Linked DNA regions of Homo sapiens: region 2 is linked to region 1. Evidence: promoter capture Hi-C in 16 types of primary human blood cells and fetal thymus (Javierre and others, 2016). All regions are on one chromosome and are shown on one strand. Each heading gives the region's core, a stretch centred on a gene start or on the middle of the fragment in contact. The rest is flanking DNA. Distances are from core to core; before and after follow the strand shown. Region 1 holds the start of STX2 (syntaxin 2). Region 2 overlaps ADGRD1 (adhesion G protein-coupled receptor D1).

What was found. The method cuts DNA at HindIII sites, captures the fragments that hold promoters and counts their contacts. A CHiCAGO score of 5 or more calls a contact.
Region 2: a contact is called between a fragment that was not itself captured here and the fragment with the promoter of STX2 in region 1, in 5 of 17 cell types (naive CD4 T cells, total CD8 T cells, naive CD8 T cells and 2 more). The highest score is 7.8, in naive CD4 T cells.

Annotation. Positions count from the first base shown.
Region 1 is chr12:130,835,013-130,842,181 of GRCh38, forward strand. It overlaps STX2 (syntaxin 2), which reads right to left and starts at 4,238. Exons shown (of 11, transcript NM_194356.4): 1 at 4,058-4,238. The coding sequence starts at 4,087. RefSeq lists silencers at 3,802-3,861, 3,932-4,441. The HindIII fragment of the contact is 18,553 bases long and covers 3,236-7,169 here.
Region 2 is chr12:131,097,171-131,103,820 of GRCh38, forward strand. The region is part of intron 15 of ADGRD1 (adhesion G protein-coupled receptor D1); the gene reads left to right. Among named protein-coding and RNA genes, the nearest start is that of LINC01257, 65 kb to the right of the region's middle. The HindIII fragment of the contact is 196 bases long and covers 3,688-3,883 here.

The DNA.
Region 1 (7,169 bases), core at 2,988-5,487:
GCACGGTGGCTCACGCCTGAAATCCCAGCACTTTGGGAGCCTAAGGTGGGCAGATTGCTTGAGCTCAAGAGTTGAAGACCAGCCTGGGCAACACAGCGCAACCCCATCTCTATAAAAAATACAGAAGTTTGCTGGGTGCAGCGGCACGCGCCTGTGGTCCTAGCTACTCAGGAAGCTGAGGCGGGAGGATGGCTTGCGCCTGGGAGGTCAAGGGTGCAATGAGTAATGATCGTGCCCCTGCACTCCAGCCTGGGCGACACAGTGAGATCCTGTCTCAAAGAAAAAAAAAAGAGATTTGCAATTCATCACCTTGAAACCAGGATGAAAAATAACGTTCTCATTTCTTTTAGGTCTACTAAGAACACCACACAGCTACTGTGTATTTATTGTTTATTATCATGCAAACAATTCCCACAGATGAAATGTGTGGTTTCTCTATTCTTCACTATAATAAATAGATATATCATATATATGTATCAAATATAAATACATCAATGTTCATAAACTTTTTTTAAAAAGTAATCAAAATACGTTTGGGGTGGTTATCTTATAGAATAGCTATTCCATTTTGCTTACGTCCTACAGTGAATTTCATTACACCTCGGTCACTCTTCCTTCCCAGGCTGCATGCATCCCCACCCACGCTCAGTTCACTGCTGTGTCTCTCTGCACCCAGCACATGATCTGCTAGAGGCCTGACATTCAAGTACCTGCTGGATGGGCGAGTCTTTTACTTTCTGTAAATCAGAAATATCTTTCTGGATTTAGAGTGTCAGAGATCTGGACCAAGTCACGCAAACTTTCTATGCCCAAATGACTGGTTGCTCAAAAACAGCATCACTGGTTAGAAACTACATCTGTCAGTACAGATTGTATTGAGCAGATTACTCTTTAAGCCCTGTCCACGTAACTGTCAGAGGCACGTTCTTCACAGGAACAAGCATCAGCAGCTAAGAAAAGAAACTTCATGGAAGCATCACAAATACTTTGTTAATCAGACATTGTTGATGAGGCATTTTAACCAACAAAATATTCAACTTTACCTAGAAAAAAACACCAGCCATTTACAAGCACGGTTGTGAGTACACATTCAACTACTCTAAGAACTACTGGGAAAGGACACATTTCCTGGGGCGGGGCGGGGGAGGGGAATTAAACTTGTATCTGGTAACTTTAAGATGGGTTTTTAAATATTAAAAGTTATTAAACTTCAAATTCAGTTTTAACTTACTATTTTATACTAGGGAGAAGGTTGTTCTTTTCTCTTTTTTTGAGACAGGGTCTCAATCTGTCTGTTGCCCAGGCTGGAGGGCAGTGGCAAAATCTTGGCTCACTGCAACCTCCGCCTCCTGGACTCAAGCAATCTTCCCACCTCAGCCTCCTGAGTAGCTGGAACCACAGGCATGCACCACTACACCTGGCTGAGTTTTTGTATGTTTTTTGTAAAGACAGGGTTTTGCCATGTTGCCCAGGCTGGTCTTGAACTCCTGAGCTCAAATGATCTGCCCACCTCAGCCTCCCAAAGTGCTGGGACTACAAGTGAAAGCCACTGTGCCCAGCCAGAAGGCTGCTTTTTATAACTCCCTAAAAACAAAAAATCTGGTAAACATTAATCACACTTATAATTACATAGCACTTGCTCCCTCCCACCTTCTCCCAGAGCTTCACACATTAGATAATTTTATGCTTCATAACTCCCTCTATGAGGTGGACAAGAGAGATACCACTGTCCCCATTTCACGTACAAGAAAAAGTTTTGAGAGATTTAAAAATTATTTGCCCAAGATGAGAAACTCCATGAGTGGAAACTTCCACGGATATACTCTCTGACTGCTCAGCTGCTGTGTCTAAAGCAGGATGGTATTGAAGTAGATGAGCTGACTTCTAGCTCTGCCGTTCTAGAACAAAACTGATTGACATGTTCTACTGTTTCAGGAAGGGTTTGGATATATAGAAACTGAGTGACAAATAATTGCCTTATTTGCTTTTTGCTATTCAAGCCAAGAAAACGTACTTTCTCACGATTCCCCAACATATAAATTTGGCTGTATTTTGCCAAAATAGTCACAGCTCTCACGTTCAATGACATTGAGCTTTTTTTTTTTTTTTTTATGAGACAATGTCTCACTCTGTCACCCAGGCGGGAGTGCAGTGGCATGGCACAATCATGGCTCACTGCAGCCTCTATCTCCTGGGCTCAAGGAATCCTCCTAGCTTAGCCTCCTGAGTACCAAGGACTACAGGTGCGAGTCACACCTGGATAGTTTTTTTGTGCGTGCTTTGTTTTGTTGGTTTTTCTGAAACAGAGTCTCTTTCTGTTGCCCAGACTGGAGTACAGTGGCACAATCTCGGCTTTCTGCAACCTCCGCCTCCTGGATTCAAGCGATGCTCCTGCCGCAGCCTCCAGAGTAGCTGGGACTACAGGTGTGCGCCATGACATCCGGCTATTTTAGTAGAAACGGGGTTTTGCCATGTTGGCCAGGCTAGTCTCCAACTCCTGACCTCAAGTGGTCCACCCAACTCGGCCTCCCAAAGTGCTGGGATTACAGGCATGAGCCACTGCGACTGGCCTCCTGCTAATTTTTTAATTTTTTTCGAGAAACAGTGTCTCCCTGTGTTGCCCAAGCTGGTCTCCAATACCTGGGCTCAAGTGATGCCCCCACCCTGATCTCCCAGACTGCTGGGATTACAGGAGTGAGCCACAGCTTTTCTTCATTAAATAAATACCTGAGCTCCTACTACACGGCACTGAAAGATAATCCATCGGGCAAGACAACACAACTATAATTTGCTGTGTTTAAGATGATATTGATCTGCGGAACACAGGGAATATTTGTCCATTAATAAAAAAGGAAAAATCACCGTGAAGAAACTTCCTTGGAATGAATATAAAGCATAATTTCCATGATCCTAAGGATGAAATCATTGCCTTTCTCAACCAGAGCTCCTCATCTGAACCACAGAACACAGATAATGATTTAAGTGGCTCTTTTCTCTATTCTCCCACTCGGGGGTACATAACAGCTCCATTCTAGCAGCAGAGGAGAGAGAATAATTCATTACATGCAGTGGGTGTCGTAGGGCTGTGGGCCTTAGCACCCCTGTTCTGAGGCTGCCAACAATTTAGAGACCAGAGGCTCTATCTGTGCACACACGTAGCATGAATTAGTACCTGTATTGTAAAGGGAAAAAGTCATAACTACTTCTGCTGGCCTAAGCCGTCCTGGGTTAGACAAGCTTGGAAAGTGCACGACCATCACTATCATTCCGCTGTCACTGCACCATGCACAGTCCTGTCACCTTTACACGTGTAGAATGCATCGAAATCCTTCCAAAATTTTTAGTGACCTGCTTTTCCCTTGCTAAAGTAAACAGTAACTTGCTGTGTGCCCGGCTGCTGGGCGCGTAAGGTGCGTTCAGAGTCAACACACGGTCCCAGTTTCCAAAGCAAACTACTGGGAGATCAGACACAAGCTGCTGTTCGCGCTCGCCCCACCCCAAGCACCCAGCACTCTAAGGTGCCCACATTTCACACCCATCTGTTGCCTCCCGCTTGGTGCACAGTCCTTTGTGAAGCCCCAGGGATAAAGCAGCGACCAAGAGGACCCGGCCTGCTCCCCGGGGCTGACGCCAGCTGCGGGGACCCCGTGGGGCGGACCACAGTTAGGCCAGTGGGCTCCGGCTGGGTAAGCGCCAGATACAATCCGCCAAGCGGAGTGACGGACAGGGAGCCACGCTCGAAGAGGGGGTCGAGGCCGGGACCTTCCCCGCTCCCTCCTCCTGCCCCAACCCGCCCTGAGGACTCCGCCCAGGAAGCCCTGGGGACCCCGCCCGGAGCCCCCACCCTAGGACTCCCGGGACCCCCGCCCTGGGGACCCCACCAGCAGTCCCCGCTCAGGACTCCCTGAGACCCTGCCCGCAGCCCCCGCCCCAGAACGCCGGAGATCCCCGCCCTGGGGACCCTCCCGGAGCCCCGCCCAAGACGCCCCGAGCCCCCGCCCGCCCTCCAGACGCCGCCCCGGCCGGGCCTGAACCGCTACCCGCGGCTGCCGCTCACCGCCGTCAGGTCTGGCAGCCGGTCCCGCATCCCCGCCGGCCGGGCAGCGCGCCCCGCCGCTCAAGCCTGTCCCGAGCTGCCTCCGGCCGGGCCTCGGGCTCTCCGGTCTCCGCCTCAGGCCCCGCGGTCCCGGCCCGGCGCCAGCAGCCCTCCCTGGAGCCGGCGCTGCCACGGCAACCGCGCCCCGCGCGCTCTGCGCATGCCCGGCCCGCGCCGCGCCCCGCACCCACCCACACGGCGGCAGCGCTTTCCAGCGGGAGCCCGGAGGGGCGGGGCCTGGGGGCGGGGCCTAGGCGGGGAGGGGCGGGGTCCGGCCGAGCCCCAGGCTGGCAGTTCCGCTACACGTGCTGTTTGTCCCTTGATCTGCTTTTATGCTTTCACACTCATTGTTTTATTTATCAAAATATAGAGCATTCAACGAATAGTGACAAAAGAGCAAAGCTCCCGGAATGTGCTGGGTGCAGCTTTGGGTAATACATATGCCGAACCTTCTCTTTAAGGGTCCACGCGCAGCCTCGGGTGTGAATGAAGGAGAAGAGATCGTGTACCACACATGATGCTTACGGAGCATAACACGGCAGGGGGCGGTAACGGGAAGAGCGTCCGCAGGCCCAGCCCTGGGATACCATTCTGGCAGGAGAAACAGGCAATACAGACACAGACAAATAAATGATAGATGAGAAAAGAAAGTAAGGGCATGGGCACGGAACTGGCAGAGAGGTCGTCATGAAGGTGCAGGAGCTTAGGTGAACTACCCAGGTTGGGGGAACAGTCCCCAAGACCATTATCACCTCTGACACCAACGGCAAATTCTGGCGGTTTCCAAAACCACCTTCAAGTTCCATAATTTGCTAGAAGGAATCACAGAATACACTAAAAACTACTGTACTCACAACTATGGTTTCTTAGCAGGAAAATGATACGGATTAACATCAGCCAAGGAAGAAGGGCAGAGGGGGAGTCTGGGGATTACGGCGTGCAGCTTCAAGGTCCTCCCGTGGTCCTCTCCCTGTGTAGTCAGGCCTCATTACTTGCCCTGCACTGATGTGTGGCCTTACACACGAAGTACTGCCAGCCAGGGAAGCTCACTTGAGCCACAGTGTGCAGAACGTTTACTGGGCTCCATTGCATGTGCATGATTGATTGATTGTTTGATTGCTTTCATGCTTGATCTCAGCCTCTTGGTTAAGTGATATCCATGTAACCCTAAGCCCCCACCATAAATCACACTGTTACTCTCTGGCTAGCCGAAGACTCCCAGGCAAACAAAGATTGCCTTCCAGGAGGAGAAGGCAAGGCCAGATTTGTTTTTAAACAAGGTTAAAGTCTTTACTGCCTCCTGGAGGAGGTGGCTTTGGTCTGACCAGAAGGCAGCGCTAAGAAATCTGCTTGAGAGCAACAGGCTACACATTAAAAAACAGGACGTTTTGGACTTGGTTCTAGGTGTGATGTGGTTCTGTTACCCGATGGAAGGTCTTGACAGCCAGTTGTCCAGGTGAGTGTGGTGGCGGGCACCTGTAATCCCAGCTACTCAGGAGGCTGATGCATGAGAATTGCTTGAACCCGGGAGGTGGAGCTTGCAGTGAGCCAAGATCGCACCACTGCACTCCAGCCTGGACAGTAAAGCGAGACTCCGTCTCCAAAAAAAAAAAAAAGATATGTTTTTTCTCTCCATATCCTGAACTTCCCCACCAGAATGCCTCCTGGACCCCGCAACAGGCAAGTGCTTTTCTTTCGGCCTTCTTGCCTCTGCCACCACCATTTTAATTCTCCCTCTCTGGTAAATACTGGGCCCTCCCTCGTTTCTCCCTCTCTCCCAGTGGATTTTTCAAAAACATATGATAATATTGGCAGCAGCTGGATGGTGTTGAATTGGCAACCAAAACTTTTTGTTTGTTTGTTTGTTTGTTTGAGACAGAGTCTTATTCTGTCTCCCAGACTGGAGTGCAGTGGCATGGTCATAGTCCACTGCCGCCTTGAACTCCTGGGCTCAAGTAATCCTCCCACCTCAGCCTCCAAAAGCACAGGGACCACAGACATGAGCCCACCATGCCCAACCTCAAAACTTTCCTTATCCTGCCAGAGAAAAAAAATGAAGTTGTGAATAATCGTTGTGGGAATTCAGGGACCCTGAATGGAGGGACCGGCTGAAGCCATGGAAGAAGAACATAAATTATGAAGATTTCATGGACATTTATTAGTTCCCCAAATTAATACTTTTATAATTTCTTATGCCTGTCTTTACTGTAATCTCTGAACATAAATTGTGAAGATTTCATGGACACTTATCACTTCCCCAGTCAATACCCTTGTGATTTCCTAGGCCTGTCTTTACTTTAATCTCTTAATCCCATCATCTTCGTAAGCTGAGGAGGATGTATGTCGCCTCAGGACCCTGTGATGATTTTGTTAACTGCACAAATTGTTTGTAGAGCATGTGTGTTTGAACAATATGAAATCTGGGCACCTAGAAAAAAGAACAGGATAACAGCAATGTTCAGGGAACAAGAGAGATAACCTTAAACTCTGACTGCCGGTGAGCCAGGCGGAACAGAGCCGTATTTCTCTTCTTTCAAAAGCAAATGGGAGAAATATTGCTGAATTCTTTTTCTCAGCAAGGAACATCCCTGAGAAAGAGAAAGCATCCCTGAGGGTAGGCCTCTGAAATGGCCGCTTTGGGGGTGGCTGGGCATGGTGGCATGTGCCTGTAGACTACTCAGGAGGCTGAGGCAGGAGGATTGCTTGAGCCCAGGAGGTTAAGGCTGAAGTGAGCTGTGACTGTGCCACTGCACTCCAGCCTGGGCAACAGAGTGAGACCCTGTCTAAAAAAATATATATATACACATACACACATGCACTATAAATATATAGTATATACATACTATACACACACATATAGTGTATACATGCTATATACACACATATAGTACATACAAGCTATATGTATATACAGATCGCAGCTGTAGGGATGAAATAAGCCCCAGTCTCCTGTAGCCCTCCCAGGCTTATTAGGACGAGGAAATTCCCGCCTAATAAATTTTGGTCAGACCAGTTGTCTGCTCTCAAACCCTGTTTCCTGATAAGATGTTATCAATGACAGTGCCTGCCCGAA
Region 2 (6,650 bases), core at 2,536-5,035, 260 kb after region 1:
TGGTTTCTGTTTTCCCAGATGGCCCCAGACTGATGCACAAGCTGTGCGGCCAGGGGAGACAGCAGGAGCCCCCAGGGTTCCTGGTCTGGAAAACAAGAGGGTGATGGTCCCCCCAGCTGACACTTTCAACAAGGTCACTGTGACCCGAGGCAGGCCAGTCCCAGCATCTGTTCAAACACACAGCAGCCCAGCTGGGTCCTCGGGGAAGATCTCCTGCCTGTGGCCAGTCCTCTCCCGTCCTGCAGCACCCCTCAAGTGGCCAAGCAGCTCATTTCTACCTGTCCCCGGGCTGTCGGTTCATTTCCATCAGTGGACGTGAAATGTGCCAGCAACTGGACCCAGCCCGGGGGAGGCTGGCTGCATGCTGCTGGCACATGCTACGGCTGCCTACGGCCAGGGATGGCCGCCAAACCAGGGATGCCTGGAGTCACAGATCCGCCAGGGCCTGGTCACTCGTGCTGTCCAGGAGCCAAGGGCAGGAGTGCAGCCCAGCCAGGGGCTGAGGGCTGCCCTGAGGGGAGACAGGCCCCGTGAGAGCCTGGATGCCAGCCGCGGAGAGACCAGAGACAGGCAGGAGCCAGCCTGGCCGGGACAGGGTGGGCGTCAAAGGTTGGGGAGCAGATGGTTGGTTCAAGGGCTGGTGTGGGGGTGGAGTGTGGACCTAGCCCGGAGTTCCTGCTCTTGTGCCCGGGAGCCCATCCTCTGCTCACCCTGCTCTCTGCCCTACGCTTGGCTTCCTGCCAAGTCCAACCAAGGAGAGATGGTGCTGCTGGGGTGGGCGAAGGGGCCAGCCTCCTGCCTGGGCTCCTGCTGGCATGGGCGTCCCCCTGTGGCTCCAGCGCCTGCATGCAGACCCTCCCCTGCACCCCCGCGCCAGCCTCACCTGGGCAGGCTGGTCTGGTTCCAGTTTCTGCTGGTGGCCCGGCCTGGCTCTGCTGCTGTCCCCTCTCCCACTGTCCTCCCGCGGTGGCCGCTGTCTGGGCCTCACTTCCTTCTCCCGCAGTGGCTGCTGTCTGGGCTGCCTCACTGCCTTCTCTGCTTTTTCAGGGCTTCCCTCACCTTCATAACCAGCTCCCCAAGTCCAATCCCGAGCGGGGAGGGTCTTGCTTTCCCATGATGAAGGGAGAGGGTGGATGGAGGCAGGTCAGAGGCACGGGCTGGGGCTGGAGCATGCGGGGCCTCAGAAGCCATGGTGGGGGAATGGGGGTTTGAGTCTGAGACTCAGGCGCTATGGAGGGGGTGAGCCATGAGGGACGAGGCTCCAGTGTACAGCGGAACCCAAGCCAGGAGGGACATGGTAGAGGATGGGGCTGGTGCTGTGGGGAGACCAGGGAAGCCCAGGAGGCTGAAGAGATCAAGGCAGAGGCTCTAGAAATCCATCAGAAAGAGGATTGGGACAGATGGCCAGTGGTGAGAAGCCAGCAGGACTCGGAGGTGGGTGCTCCAAGGGAGAGGGAAGGGCCTGGGTCAGGGCCTTTCTCAGATCATGGCCGTGTGAGGGCCACCATCCCTCTTCCCTCTGCAGTCACCTCCGCCACCGCCCCTGTGTGTTTCCATCACAGCCTCATCAACACGACACTGGCAGCCTTAGGTATTTATTCACGTTTACACATCCACGTCTTTGTTCATCACCCGCTTCCCCACTGCAATGAGACTTCCGTGCATGGTGCACAGTAGGTGCTGAATACATGCTTGCTGCTGTAGCAGGGGCCATCACGGGTCAGCCCCAGCCCTGCCTCTCGCCAGCTGCATGGTGGTGGGCAGTCATTTACTGCGGCTGCCTCAGTGTCCTCATCTGTAAAGGGAAACCATGCTGTCCACTCACAGGCTTGCTCTGAGGAGTCGATGCCTTCAAGCAGCAGGTGCCTCGTTTCTGTCATTTCCAACCACTCTTCTGTGATTCTCCATGATGCCTAGAGTTTGCCAGATCCTCTGTCGGGCCCCGGGGATTCAGAATTAAACAAGACAGTCGACCTGTCTTCATGGAACTTACCGTCAGAGCTCACATCACTCTGGTCTAGAAGGCTGTCTCCTGTCCTGTCTGTCAGGTTCCTGCCCAAGCATTGAGGCCTGTGTGAAGCCCTCTCCCTCCTAACGCCCACTCAGTATTTCTCTCCCCCTCCTTCAGATCACCCTCCCTCCCTTCCAGTTTCCTAAGGCTGTGTGCAGGTCGTGGTGGAGTCAACATTTAACACAGGTTGCAGGGTTAAGTAATACAATGACAAATCCATGGCTGAATGTGTGTTACAACTAGAAAGTCCCTGTAGTAAAGAGAAGGCAGTGAGCCACTATCAGGATCACCTAGATTGTCACCTTCTGCCTCAGTCCACTCTGTGGACTTGAAAGCTGTGTTGAAGCAGTGAGGTTTGCAGACCCTGACGTGTGCATGCCATTTCTTCTTGATCCCTCCTGAAGTCGGCCTCATTATTCAGACCATTGTGTGGAAGAAGAATGTATAACGTTACATGCAGAAGCCATGGAGACTCCAGTTTATGGGAGATCTCAGGAGTTTTCAAAGGTCATTTTGATCATCTATCATTTTTACCTATGGGCTCACCTTATAACTCAAGCACCATGTACCATGTGACCCTCCAATATGTCTGGCCTTATGTTTCTTACAATCATTTCAAGGCTGCCTGGTCAGGCTATTAGCTCAGTTCAAGGGAAGAGCCATATGTCTTTCTTTTTAGTACTCCCCATTGTGCCTGGCATGATGCTGGCTTTGGGTGGGTTTGATAAAAGTACATGATAAAGAGACTTGATTGATGGTGGGGTTGGTTCATGGTGGGGTTGGTTGATGGTGAGGTTTGCTGGTGGTAAGTTTGGTTGAAGATAGGGTTGGTTGACAGTAGGTTGGTTGAGGGTAGGATTGGCTGAAGATAAAGTTGGTTGATGATGGGTTGGTTGATGATGGGTTTGATTGATAATCAGGTTGATTGATAGGTTGGTTTATGATGCATTTGGTTAATGGGTTGGTTAATGGTTAGGTTAGTTGGTAGTGGGTTGGTTGAAGGTGAGTTTATGATGAGTTTGGTTGATGATGCGTCAGTTGATGGTAGAGTTGGTTGATAGTGGATTACTTGAAGGTAAGGTTGGTTGATGGTGGGTTTGGCTGATGGTGGAATTGGCTGGTAGATTGGTTGATGATGGGTTGGTTGATGGCAAGGTTGGTTCATGGTCGGTTTGGTTGATGTTCAGGTTGGTTGATGGTGAAGTTGGTTGATGATGGGTTGGTTGTTGGTAAGGTCAGTTGATGGTGGAGTTGGTTGATGATGGGTTGGTTGATGTTAAGGTTGGTTGATGGTGGAGTTGGTTTATAGTCAGATTAGCTGATGATGCATTGTTTGAACGTAAGGTTGGTTGATGGTAGGCTTGGTTAATGGTAAGGTTGATTGATGATGGGTTGGTTGATGGTGGGTTGATTGATAATGGGTTGGTTGATGGCATGGTTGGTTGGCGATAAGGTTGATCGATAATATGGTTGGAAGGCTTAAGGCATAAGTGGGTAGGTGTGGGTCTGGGGCTAGGGCTAGACTCCCATTTGTCAGAAACTCCCAGTAGAATGGGTGGCCAAGAACGGAGATTAAGATGTTTTAGAGAGTTGGCTGACCAACTGCAGCCCAGTGTGCAGCGAACTCTCATGTCAGCCCACTGGAACCTCACTGCATTTGCAAATAGATGAGCTAAAGCTTTATTTTCTCAATTTAAAAGATATTAATCAGTGATGTAGATTTAGGAAATCTGTCTGTTGAATCAGTGGCAGAGTCAGATGGGTAGATGTGAGGGCTCTTTCTCCCCTGACGCCTTCAGCAAATACCTCTGGTTACCATTGTTCCCAGTACTGCTCACTGCTGTTCTTAGAGCTGCGAGATGAGGTAGGAAAAGCTTCCCTAATGCATCCTCAGGGCTTCCCGTGTCCCTGGGGGAGAGACGATGCCCCATGAAATGCAGCTATGGTGTCCGAGAGTGATATGCATCCCTCTGGTGGGACATGAGATGACTTGGGTAGAGCAGAGATGATCAGGGGTGGGGAGGAGCCAGGGCTTTGTGGGGTGGAGACCTGTGTGGGGTGCATCTCTTGGGGGGCTTCCCAGGGCAGTGGGCCAGGCAGGCTTTTGGACACCACTGCTTTCTTTCCTTTACTAGCAGTGTTTCCACTGATTTTTCTTCTTTTCTTTCTTTTATTTTTTTTCTTTTTCTTTCTTTCTTTTTTTTTTTTTTTTTTTTTTTTTTTGAGATGGAGTCTGGCTCTGTCGCCCAGGCTGGAGTGCAAGTGGCACGATTTCGGCTCACTGCAACCTTCACCTCCCGGGTTCAAGTGATTCTCCTGCCTCAGCCTCCTGAGTAGCTGGGATTACAGGTGTGGGCCATCATGTCTGGCTAATTTTTGTATTTTTAGGAGAGACGGGATTTCACCATGTTGGCCAGACTGGTCTCAAACTCCTCGCCTCAGGTGATCTGCCCGCCTCGGCCTCCCAGAGTGATTACAGGCGTGAGCCACTGTGTCTGGCCTCCATTGGTTTTTAACTGAATTCAGTTTGGTAACTGCTGAAGAGCTGGACGTTCGTTTCCAAGAACCATTCCCTCTGCTGAGGCCCAAAACTCTTGTAACTGACCCTTACTTCCATCTCTAGGCAGAGATCAGTGTGAGAGACAAGACTTTTCAGTTGTCTTAGAAAGATTGCATATCCAGTATAATGTCAGTGTGTCCTGTATTTGGTTTTATTCTTAGTTTCTGAAACATCTCACTTCCTCTAAAACAGCACTTCTTAAACCACATCTCTATTGCTGTCATTGGGTCTCTTCCCTTCCTCCTCCAAAGAGTTTAAGAGATGCCAAGTTGAACATAGCTGAACAGGGGGGTTTATTTTACCTGCAGAATCCTCAGAACTCTTAAGTGGCTTTATATTCATCCAAAAAGTCTTTTAAGGGGTGCAGAGAATGGAGCTTTTTCCAAACTTATCTGAAAGCAGAAACATCATTTCATGGACAATTTGCTAATAATGTCATGCGGAAACTGGAGTGTCACACACTTAGCGTGGGGAATGTGGCCTAGAAACTGAGTTCCCTTCACCCACCGCGGCTATGCGATTAATGGGAGTAGCTCTTGGCCCGTCGGTCTGCAGGTGGAGATGTTTGTTTCCATTGCCGAGAATGCTGCGGTGGGAATGCACTGGCAGCACCCGCCTGTTGAGGAACTTGTTTTGCCAAACATACTCGGCAGGTGACTGATGAGTGCCTACCCCTCCCACAAGGCCCCTTCTGCTGGCAGAAGATGCCTGTGACCTCAGCTCCCACCTGGTGGAGCAGAGATGGGCAGCACTGGGCAGCCTCGGGCCCCCGGGAGGCCCCTGTTCGCCCACAGCGTCCCAGGTGCCCTGGGTGTTGCCAGGCAGCGATAGGGAGTGGGCTCTGGGCAGAGTCGGTGTGAGTTCACCAAAGTCTCCACCTTGAGTTCCTCAAGCCCAGTGCAGGAGAGCCCATGAGGGTCAGGGGAAGCCAAGATGGAGGCACACACCCAGGGGACATCGTGGCACCTGCTGCAGGGAAGCCCACGGGCATGGCTGTGATTCCCAGGGGTCAGAGGTCAACAGCCTGAAGGTCTTCTCAAATATGGGAGGCCAGGCCCAGGAGTTGAAGGAAAAAGGTTTATCCATGGGAGAAGGAGTAGTGGGGCTCTCCTACCCCTAACTGCATGATTCTGCAATAACCAGAAACAAGAACAAGAAACCGCAGCCATTCTCCTGAGGGGACGGGGGCCCCATTTCTTCAAAGTTCCCTCTCATCCTCAGGGATACTGATGGGCTCCCCTGTGACTGCCCCTCCTCTCTCCCTGGGGCATCATGAACCTGGAAGGGGGATTCTTCCGTCTCCCTGGCCCTGGCCACGCAGTGCCCACCTTTCCCGTGATAGCCACAACGTCCGTGGAGAGGGAAGTCCAGCCCCTGGGAAATTGGAAGTTGTGCGCAGGTCCTTGCCTGCTGAGGCCTGAGCCGGCGTTCAGCACAGGTGGCTCTGCCCAGCCCTCAGCCTCTCTGCCTTGTCCCTGAGCCGGAGAGCACAAAAGGGCCCCTCCAGGGGAAATGCTGCTGGTGTCATGGCAACAGCTGTTTCACTCCTGAAGGGGGCCAGGCCAAGGCCCTGCCTTCTGCAAGCACTGGTTCTCAGAGAAGATACCAGGGCCTGCAGGGTGAAAATGAGCTCCTGCTAAAATGGGAGGCACAGGCTGTGGCGTCCAGGCTGCCCCTACCCCAGCCCCACGCACCCAGGAATCTAGCACGTCTGTAGCCCCTCGGGCGTGAGCCCACTCCGCTGTGAATCACAGTTGAAGGCGGTGCTTGCTGAGTGTTCGGGCTTCCCATGGCCCCCTGGCCCCAGGTTGCTCCCCGTGGTCCAGTGCACTACCTGCCTCACCCTGAGCTGGGGCCCCCTGGGCCTGCGGCATCTCCTCCCTCATTGCCAACAGCTCCTTACACACTCAGAGTGGCCTCCTTTTGTTCCTTTGTCCTGGTGATCGGGGAGAAGGCATTTAGACTCCCCCTACCCGCATGCCACAGGAGGAAGCTGGAGGCAGGCGTCTCGGAGGACGGGGGGACGTGGGTCTGGGGTCTGGGGCCTCAGTGCCGGACAGGGACAGCATGATGCAGGCT